2 separate regions of the Homo sapiens genome follow, and region 1 is linked to region 2. Evidence: promoter capture Hi-C in human tissues and cell types (Jung and others, 2019). All regions are on one chromosome and are shown on one strand. The core of a region is centred on a gene start or on the middle of the fragment in contact, and the rest is flanking DNA. Distances in the headings are between cores, read along the strand shown. Region 1 overlaps NHEJ1 (non-homologous end joining factor 1). Region 2 holds the start of WNT10A (Wnt family member 10A).

Evidence for each region. The method cuts DNA at HindIII sites, captures the fragments that hold promoters and counts their contacts. A contact is called where the count stands out against the background at its distance.
Region 1: a contact is called between a fragment that was not itself captured here and the fragment with the promoter of WNT10A in region 2, in 1 of the 25 tissues and cell types used here (aorta).

What each region holds. Positions count from the first base shown.
Region 1 is chr2:219,136,754-219,141,564 of GRCh38, reverse strand. All of the region lies in intron 5 of NHEJ1 (non-homologous end joining factor 1), which reads left to right. Among named protein-coding and RNA genes, the nearest start is that of NHEJ1, 22 kb to the left of the region's middle. The HindIII fragment of the contact is 4,149 bases long and covers 864-4,811 here.
Region 2 is chr2:218,877,615-218,882,106 of GRCh38, reverse strand. WNT10A (Wnt family member 10A) reads right to left here and starts at 1,255. Exons shown (of 4, transcript NM_025216.3): 1 at 999-1,255. The coding sequence starts at 1,111. RefSeq lists silencers at 1,180-1,319, 1,340-1,549, 1,770-1,829. The HindIII fragment of the contact is 13,021 bases long and covers 1-4,492 here.

The DNA.
Region 1 (4,811 bases), core at 1,689-4,188, 260 kb before region 2:
CATCCATTCAGTTTTCTAAGCTAGAAATTTGGGAGTCACTCACTTTCCTCTTTGTCCTTACTTTCAAAGCCTAATTTATTGACCGTCTTTTGAATCTGCCTATCTTCTCTATTCTACCTCCCGTTGTCTGAAATTAGCCATTTTTCTCTCCCTTTTCCCCCACTCCCCCCCTGCTTTTTTTTTTTGAGACCAAGTCTCACTCTGTTGCCCAGGCTAGAGTGCAGTGGCACAATCTCGGCTCACTGTAACCTCTGCCTCCTGGGTTCAAGAGATTCTCATGCCCCAGCCTCCTGAGTAGCTGGGACTACAGGCTTGAGCCACCACGCCCAGCTAATTTTTGTATTTTTTGTAGAGATGGAGTTTCACCATGTTGGCCAGGCTGGTCTTGAACTCCTGACCTCAGGTGATCCACCTGCCTTGGCCTCCCAAAGTTTTGGGATTACAGGTGTGAGCCACTGTTCCTGGCCTTTCTGTCCCTTTTTTGGCTTGACCATGCAACAGCCTCCTAACTTGTCTCCTGGTCAGTTCTTATTCCCCTGCAGTTGAATTTGTAGTTTTGTCAGAGTGATGTCTTTGAAACTGAAACTTGATTATGACACTTTTTGCTCAGAGTCCTTTAGTGGCTCCCGGTTTCCTACAGGATAAAGTTCAAACTCCTTGCACGCCACACGTGATCATTTATGATTTGATCCTTTTGACATCTTCAGCCTGCTCCTCTGGCATTCCACTATAACATCTTTAAATACCACCTTGTGGATGAATCTCACATTTATTCTTCACTGTAGGTCTTACCCTGAAACTCCAGACTGCTTGTTTAACATTTTCATGAAGAAGTTTAAAAAATATCTTAAATTCAACACGTCCAAAATTGAACTTCCAGTCGTATGCCCAGATTTACTTTTCCAACAACCCCCTCCCATCTAAGTTGATGGAAGGTTCATTCTTTCACTTTTAGTTGGGTGAAAAAACCTTGGAGTCATCCTGACTGCTGTCCTCTCACTTCCTACAGCCAAAGTCCATCAGGAAATCCTGTTGGCTTTACCTTAAAACTATGCCCGTAATCTCACCTCTGCTGCTACCATACTGGAGCCACCATCATCTCCTACCTGCATTATGGCAAAAGCCTCCTTATTTGTATCCTGCAGCTACTCCTACCCCCTCCTGGCCTATTATCAACAAAGCTATCTTATTAAGTTGCAAGGCACATCGTGATATTCTTCTGCTCAAAGCCCTTCACTGGCTTAACACTTCATTTATAGAGTAAAATCCAAAGACTTTACCATGGCCTATAAAACCCTATATGATCTTATAGAACTCTCTTACCTTTCTGACCTCATCTCCTACAACTTCCTCCCTCATTCACTCCACTGCAGCCACACTGGCCTCTTGCTGTTTTTCTAACACTCTTAAGTGTTTTTCTAACACTCTAACACTGCCTTTAGGCCTTTACATTGGCTGTTCCCTCTGCCTGGAATGTTCTTTCTTCAGATATTTGTGTGGCCAACTTCCTCACTTCCTTAAAGTCTGTATTAGTTATCCATTGCTGTGTAACAAATTGTCCCAAAATTTAATGGCTTAAAATAACAGGCTGGGTGCGGTGGCTTACGCCTGTAATCGCAGCACTTTGGGAGGCCAAGGCAGATGGATCATGAGGTCAGGAAATCAAGACCATCCTGGCTAACACGGTGAAACCCTGTCTCTAATAAAAATACAAAAAATTAGCCGGGTGTGGTGGCAGGCGCCTGTAGTCCTAGCTACTTGGGAGGCTGAGGCGGGAGAATGGCGTGAACCTGGGAGGTCTCAGAGCTTGCAGTGAGCCGAGATCGTGCCACTGCACTCCAGTCTGGGCGAAAGAGCGAGACTCTGTCTCAGAAAACAAAAACAAAAACAAAAAACCCCAAAAAACCAAAAACACATTTATTATCTTGCATGGTTTCTGAGGGTCAGGAATCTGGGAGCAGCTTAGTGGGTGTGATTCTGGCTCAGTGTCTCTCATGATGTTGCAGTCAATATGTCAGCTGGTAACGCAGTCATTGTAACATCCGGATAATTCATATCCAAGCTTTCTCATGTGGCTGTTGGCAGGAGGTGCCATTTCTTGCTATGTGGCCTGTCCATAGGGCTACTCACAGGACCTGGTTTCCTCCAGAGCCAGTGATCCAAGAGACAAAGACCAAGGCCAGGTGGGGTGGCTCATGCCTGTAATCCCAGCACTTTTGGAGGCTGAGGCGGGCAGATCACCTGAGGTTAAGAGTTCAAGACCAGCCTGGCCAACATGGTGAAACTTCGTCTCTACTAAAAATACAAAAATTAGCTGGACATGGTGGCATGCACCTGTAATCCCAGCTACTCAGGAGGCTGAGGTGGGAGAATTGCTTGAACCCGGGAGGCAGAGGTTGCAGTGAGCTGAGATCACACCACTGCACTCCAGCCTGGGCAACAGAATGAGACTCTGTCTCAAAAAAAAAAGAAAAAGAAAAGAAAATGAGAAACGAAACCAAGACCAAATGGACCTGCAGTCCTTTTATAACCTAATTTCAGAAGTTACATTCTATCACTATCTCACTGTATTCTTTTTATTAGAAATGAGTCACTAAGTCTGGGTCACACTTAAGTGGAAGGTAATTAATTAAACTTCACCTCTTAAGGGGAGCTGTGTCAAAGAATTTGGAGACATATCTACATAGACTACATCCATCTACATGGACTACAACAATGTCTTTTTTCAAATGTTACCTTCCCAATAGAGTTTACCCTGACTACTCATTTAAAGTTGTAAGCTCCATTTGTCCCCCCTGCACCTTAGCACTCCCATTTCATCTTACCATCCTCTACTTTTTATTTTTTCTATAGCACCTAGTTTCCAACATATTGCCATAAAATTTACTTATTTTATTATACTTACTGTTTATGGTCTATCTCCTGTCTGTTAGAATGTAAGCTCAACAAGGACAAAGATGTATGTTTTGTGCACTGGTCTAGCCCAAGTGCCTAGAACAGTGCCTCCACACATAGTAGGCACTCTATAAGTGTTTGTTGAATAGAAGAAGAAATCATATCTTCCCACTCTTTTTTATTTTCCTCCTCTTATGAATAGGCCAGCAAATAATCACCTATTGGTAGCCTTAGACATAGGCAGCCTTACATGTAAATAGATGAGTAGCCTATATTCCCATTCTACCACCTGCCTTATTTGTTTGACATTTATGTTTTCTGAAAGGCAGTCCCAACTTCGGGATGAAGTGTATATAAACCTTGAATCTTTTATTATTGAGAAATCCCAGAACCTCTCTTTTTTTAGAGCCAGTTAAGAGACTAACACCTCAAAAGTCAAAAGAATAAGTACCTAACAAAATCCTGGAAAGAAAATTAGTCTTAGAGTCACAAGGGCTCCACTTCCACAGTTAGAAGGGCTACCCTTTTACCATGTACCTGTTGTTCAATATGTAGAGAAAGCCATAGGATTCAGGGTGGTTTTTTTTTAGTGTCCATGTGGGCATCGTAAAAAAGGATAAGTCTAGATGCATGAGAATATGCTCCCTCCTATTATGTGTGTCAGTTCTCCGACCTAGAAAAACTTGCAGTTAATTCATCCTTTCGGTATTCGGTCAGGTGCATGCGGGCTGAATGAGGTTCTGTGAGCATATAAGGTATGATAATATTGCCATCAAAGAGCTTATAGTGCTTAGTGAATGATAATAAGGGCCATAGTAGTGGAGTGATTAGAAAAAGCTTTCTATAAATGGCAGGACGTGAACTGGGCTTTGATTTAGGCTTTGATTGAAAACTATGTGGAAGACATTTTAGGTGGGAAGCACTTGGGCAAAGGATGGAAAATAAGAATAAGAATGGATGAGGATTAGTAGAAAATAAAGTTAGCAAGATAATAACTTGAGGCTAAATTGTGGGGGCCTTAAATGTTGGGCTGGCAGATTAGTGTTTTATTCTGAAGGTGGTTTTCAGTTTTTTTTGTTTTTTTTTTTTTTTTTTTTTTGCCTGTAACACATTTATTTCTCCATTTAGTTCAATTGTTAACGACTGTCATTATGTGCTGTGATTCTCAAGTGGGGACACATCTCCTAGGAGGGAGATGGGGCACATTCTCCTTGCACTTATTAATTACTGTTGCAGATAGTGGGAAGCCATTGAAAGTTTTGACTGGAGAATTGACATATGAAGGTGATCTTTAGGAATATTAGGCTCTTGGTCATATGCTTATGTGATTTGAAGAATAGTGATGCCATTGATAGACTAGGAAGATCATGGGTGGGGTCGGTTTAACCGTGGGCATATAAAAGAATTGTTTTCCTTACTGAAAATATGAATGTACCAGTATTTGAGCTCTGGAATGAAAATCTCCAGGGAGGAAGGTATGGCTGTGCATGTTTCTCAACTATATTTTGTTTTTTCTGAATTTCACCTTCTCTTTGGGGTTTTCTCACTGTGAATCCTGTAGTAACCAGGGGTTACCACTTCTTTTTTTTTTTTTTTTTCTCAAGAAGAGCTAAAAAGACCTCTTTCTTTATTTTCCTTTTGCAAAGGCTTATAAGGGCTTATGTTTTCAAAAGGAAATTTATTAAAAATTTTAAAGTAATTTTTTAAAAAAATTGTTAAAATTTTGAGAGAGAAAAAAAAGGAAATCAATATAGAAAATACAAATGGGGCCAGGTGCGGTGGCTCAGGTCTGTAATCCCAGCACTTTGGGAGGCTGAGGCGGGCAGATCAGTTGAGGTCGGGAGTTTGAGATCAGCCTGGCCAACATGGCGAAACCCCATCTCTACTAAAGATAAGAAAACTAGCTGGGTGCAATG
Region 2 (4,492 bases), core at 6-2,505:
CATCTAACAACACACACTCTGTCCCAACGGCCATAATCACTCCCTCTTCCAACCTCTGCTTCTGAAGGTTGGGCCCATCAGTACACTCCTACACATTCCTCTCTCCTTGACCTCCTCACAATCATCCTGCCCAGTGCAACTCACTCAGCTAGCTGCACACCCACACAGGTAAGCGTGCAAATGCACACACATCCACCATGCTTGTGGCCACAGTATTTCCTATGCACATCCCCAGGAATAGATGCCCATACACACAGGGTTCCCCACAAGCCCACTCCCACAGATATGTTTCAGTCACATTCACATAGACACACTTCTGCACACATTGTGGTGGACACACAAACCCAACCCCAGCACACTTACGCACATGCACACTTCATCAGACATAGTTACAGACACACACACAAAGACACTCCCATTTACACATGTGTTCATCTTAACATACATTGACCCATGAGCTCTCACATGCACACATGGGCACACATACAAACTACTGTTTACCAACACAGTTTGCTGGGATCCTGGGCTCGATTGAAAACACACACACACACACACACACACACACAGCTCTTGCAGCTGCAGTCTCTCACTGACCCCACCTGGGCTACCCCCTTCCAGCCTCCCAACCCCTGCCCCTACCTGGGGCTGAGCTGCAGGAAGGAGTGAGGCAGCTTGTGCTTACTCCTGAGGTGGGGGTGCATTCCCCCAACAGGGCAGGAACTCCAGACTGGCACTTGCTCCCCCCCCACACACACCTCCCCTCCTAGTTGCCATCATGCTCCTGGGCACTGCCTTGTCTCCCTGGACTGCCCATATCCTGTCACCAGTCCAACCCCCTCCTATGAGGGAGCTCACTGCCTTTGGTTGGGCACCAGCACTTTCCTATGACCCTGTCCCTCCCTTCTTCCAGGGTCCTCTACCCCAGCAAGAGCATCAGAGGCCCCTGCAGGCCGGGGTCCCAACTCTCTAGGAGGGCGGAGCATGAGGTGAGGGCTCACCTGGGCATGGCAGCAGCCAGCAGCAGTAGGAAGAACAGGAGCACCCAGAGCGCTGGCCGCGGCTGGGGCTGGGGTCGGAGCCGCAGCCAGGGGCGAGGGTGGGCGCTGCCCATGGCGCGCAGGCCCTGACGGGCTGGGAGTGGGGGGCTCACAGCCCAGTGGGACTGGAGAGCCAGGGGCGCCGGCGCATGATCGGCGGGGGGTCGGGGCGGCTGCGACACACAGCTCCGACTCGGGTCAGGGCTCCCGGAGCAGACGGCGCCCGCCTCCCCGCTCCATGGGGCAGCACCCCCGGGCACCGCCCTCGGGGGGGGCGGGGGGTGAAGAGCGGGCGAACCGGGCACCTCCTGGCACAGGGGTCCGGGGAATTTCCCGAGGCCCCCCCGCGACAACTCCCGGTGCCTCTCAAGGGTAAGGGGGGCCCGGAGGTGCAGCGGGCTGGGGACGGGAGGCTGGGGTGCCGGGGAACCCTCCAGCGCAGCGCCGGGAGCCTGCGCTTCCGAGGGCGTGCGAGGCTGGCTGGCGGGGGCGGCGCTGTCTGTGTCGGGCCCCACTGCCTGTAGAGTAAGTGACTGTCCCGGCTCGGGGAGCTCTGCCGCCTTCCCTTTCCTCCCCCCACCCCCCCGCCATTTAGTGTCTCAGGGCTCTACCCCACGTGACGTCACGCGGCGGGGCGTGGAGGCGTGTACGAGTCCCGAGGCCACTGCGTCCGCTGGGGACTGGGGGTGGGAGCGTCCCTGCTGAGGGCAACAGAGGGAAAGGTGTTGGGGTCTGTGCGCGCGTGCACAGGAAGATGCCTGTGTGTGGAGCGCGCTGGGTTGTGTGGGGGATATGTGTTACCGCGAGGTGTGTGTGCCTGGCAGAGACGCAGCTGCTGGGGAGCGCCCCCATCCCACCCCAACACACACACCTGCAGGGGCTGGAGGGGAGGGGCTGGCCTCTGTGTTTCGCCTCCTCCGCCAGAGGAGGGACTTCCCCCAGGCCTGCCTGGTGTGAGGCAGGTGTGGGCTCCTGCAGAGGAGTTTGGCAGCCTCTGGTTTCTTCTCCCCTTTGCTGTGTGACCTTAAACAGGTGCCTCCTGCTCCTGCTCACGGAGACCTCCTCTGCCCCTTTGCGGAATGCGGCTCATGGGGACCACCTTGTCTCCTCAGTGAGCCCGGGGAGGCAGCAGTGTCAGGCCCCCAGAAAATGCTTGCGTAGGAGCGCCCGGGGTGGCACGTCCTGGGAGGAGGCGTTAGAGAGACTTTTAACCCTAGAAGTGGCCGTTGAGATAGTTTATTTAGCTCCCCTTTATTTCACAAGAAAATATCGAGGCTCAAAGAGGTCACACAGCAAATTAGCGGAAGAGCGAGAACCGAACGCAGCTCTCCTGACTCCCAGCGCAGCAGCTGCCTCCCCAACACTGAGTGTTGCCTGCCTGTGCCCGCAGATACTCTCAGTCTTGTCCTGGCCCTCCCTGGCCCCACCTGCACATGGTCCTCTAGGAGGTCCCTAATACCAGCCTCCTGGCTCAGGTCTACTTCTCGCTGAGATCTTCCTGTCCCTCCACCCCAACTGAACACTGGGCCCCTCCTCGATATAGTGCAAGTGTGCTGGGCCCAAGCAAGGGCCTGAGAGCCAGAGGGCAGGGGAAAGGCAGCTCTGCCGTCTGTTTCTGGTGCTAGCCTGGGCCCTGATAGTGGATCGTGCTCCTGCCCTGTGCCCTCGGCATCCTCCTCTGTAAAATGGGCACAAGCCTTTACACAAACATGCCCCTCTCTCTGAAGAGAGCCCCTGCTGGCTTAGGAACAAAACTATGGGAGCCTCTGGGCTCAGAGACAAAAAAGGCCCATTCCTGGAATTGCCCATCCCTGGGGAACTGAAGGAGGGGGTGGGGCCCTCCTTGTCCCCAGACTGTCAGGTGGTGGGGGCGGCCTGAGCAACAGCAGGCTGACGGCATACTCCCCCCTCCTTTCCCCCTCATCTCTGCCGGCAGCCACCGCAGCTGTCAGGAATTAAGGGCTTGAGGCTGCTGGGGGTGGGGGTGGGGCAGTGGGGGGGGAGCAGTCTGGCTGGACTGCAGGAAAACAGCCAGGGGCAGCAAGCAGACTGCGTCAGCTAGAGCCTTATTTGACCCCAACTGCCCCCTGCCCTCCCCACTCTCCCTACCATGCTGCAGAAACGGGGACAGCTTGGGACTAGCATTTGGGAAGGGTAAGCGGTAAGGGTAAGGGTGGGACCAGACTCAAGACAGGAGACAGGCACCAGCCCAGGATGAGAGAGGACACCAGCAAGCTGGAGAGTCATATTCTTATTGGCTGTTGGGGAAACTGAGGCCCAGAAAGAATTAGGAACGTGACACAGGGAAGGGACTCATAATCAGCTTACAGATGTCCTTATTCCCCATCACGCGCTCACACTAGCATTTCCCACGCTTGATGCAGCACAAGTGTCCCCTGGGGTGGGCCATTGTGGGAATGCGGATTCCAGGCCCCATGAAGTTGAATCAGCCTTTCCAGGGAAAGGCCTGGGTGTCTGTCTTTCTAGCTAGCATCCCCAGTGATTCTGGTGGGGACTCCTTTTGGGAAACGCTGCTGACCTGGTTGAGGAGCTGATTTAGTTTCCTTTGGCATCTCTCTGATGAGGGGGTCTCTTTTCTTCCCCACCTCCACTGTCTGTGAAATACAGAGGTGCAAAGGAGACCGAGAAAACCCTTTCTTAAAAAAAAACAAAAAAGCCTCCGGAGGCAAATAGTGATACTGAGGCTTGCACTCAGGCGTGGCTCTGCCCTGGTGTCAGGAGGGTCTAGGAGTGCCCAAGTCAGAGCACTTCTCAGTGAAGGGAGGGGAGAGTCTGTGTTGGTCCAGAGCCTTGGCATGTATGTAGGTGAGGCCCAGAGACTGTCTGCCCCTGGGGTCCCAGCCCCAAATGACCCACACCATGGCCAAGCCCCTATCAGCACCCCCTAGTCCCCACCCTGGCCCTGCCCTGGGCCCTGGCCCTCAGCCCAGCCCCAGCCCCCGCAGCCGCCGCCTAAGACCACAATTACAGGGGCCACTGGGGGGCGGGGGAGCACTGGGGATGAAAGGCAGCTTGGAGAATGGTTCCAGCTGTGGCAGCTCTGGAGAAGGTCACAGGGAGGAAGGGCCGGGGAAGCATGGGGGTGAGAACAGGTGGGACCCTCACAGCCCCAGCCTAGCCCAGTCCAGCCCCAGCCCAGTCCTGGTGCCCAGCTGGAGAAGTTTGTCTTGCTGAAGAAGAACGCCAAGGAGCCACAGACCAATAAGGAGGCTCTTCATTCCATTGTCCAGGCCTCAGAGGCCACCAACCCTCAGCAAGGTAAGGGGGAATGGCTTGCTGCTGCAGTCTCCCCAAACTCCCAATGTGTTTGGTCATTGAAAGGGAAGGGAATTGTTCCCCGAGCCCGTGGCCTCAGGCTGATCCTAGGCCTTCCACTCGGCCTCCTCACCCATCTGCCTGTGTTCCGCCTGTTCCTGATGTGGTCACACACACAT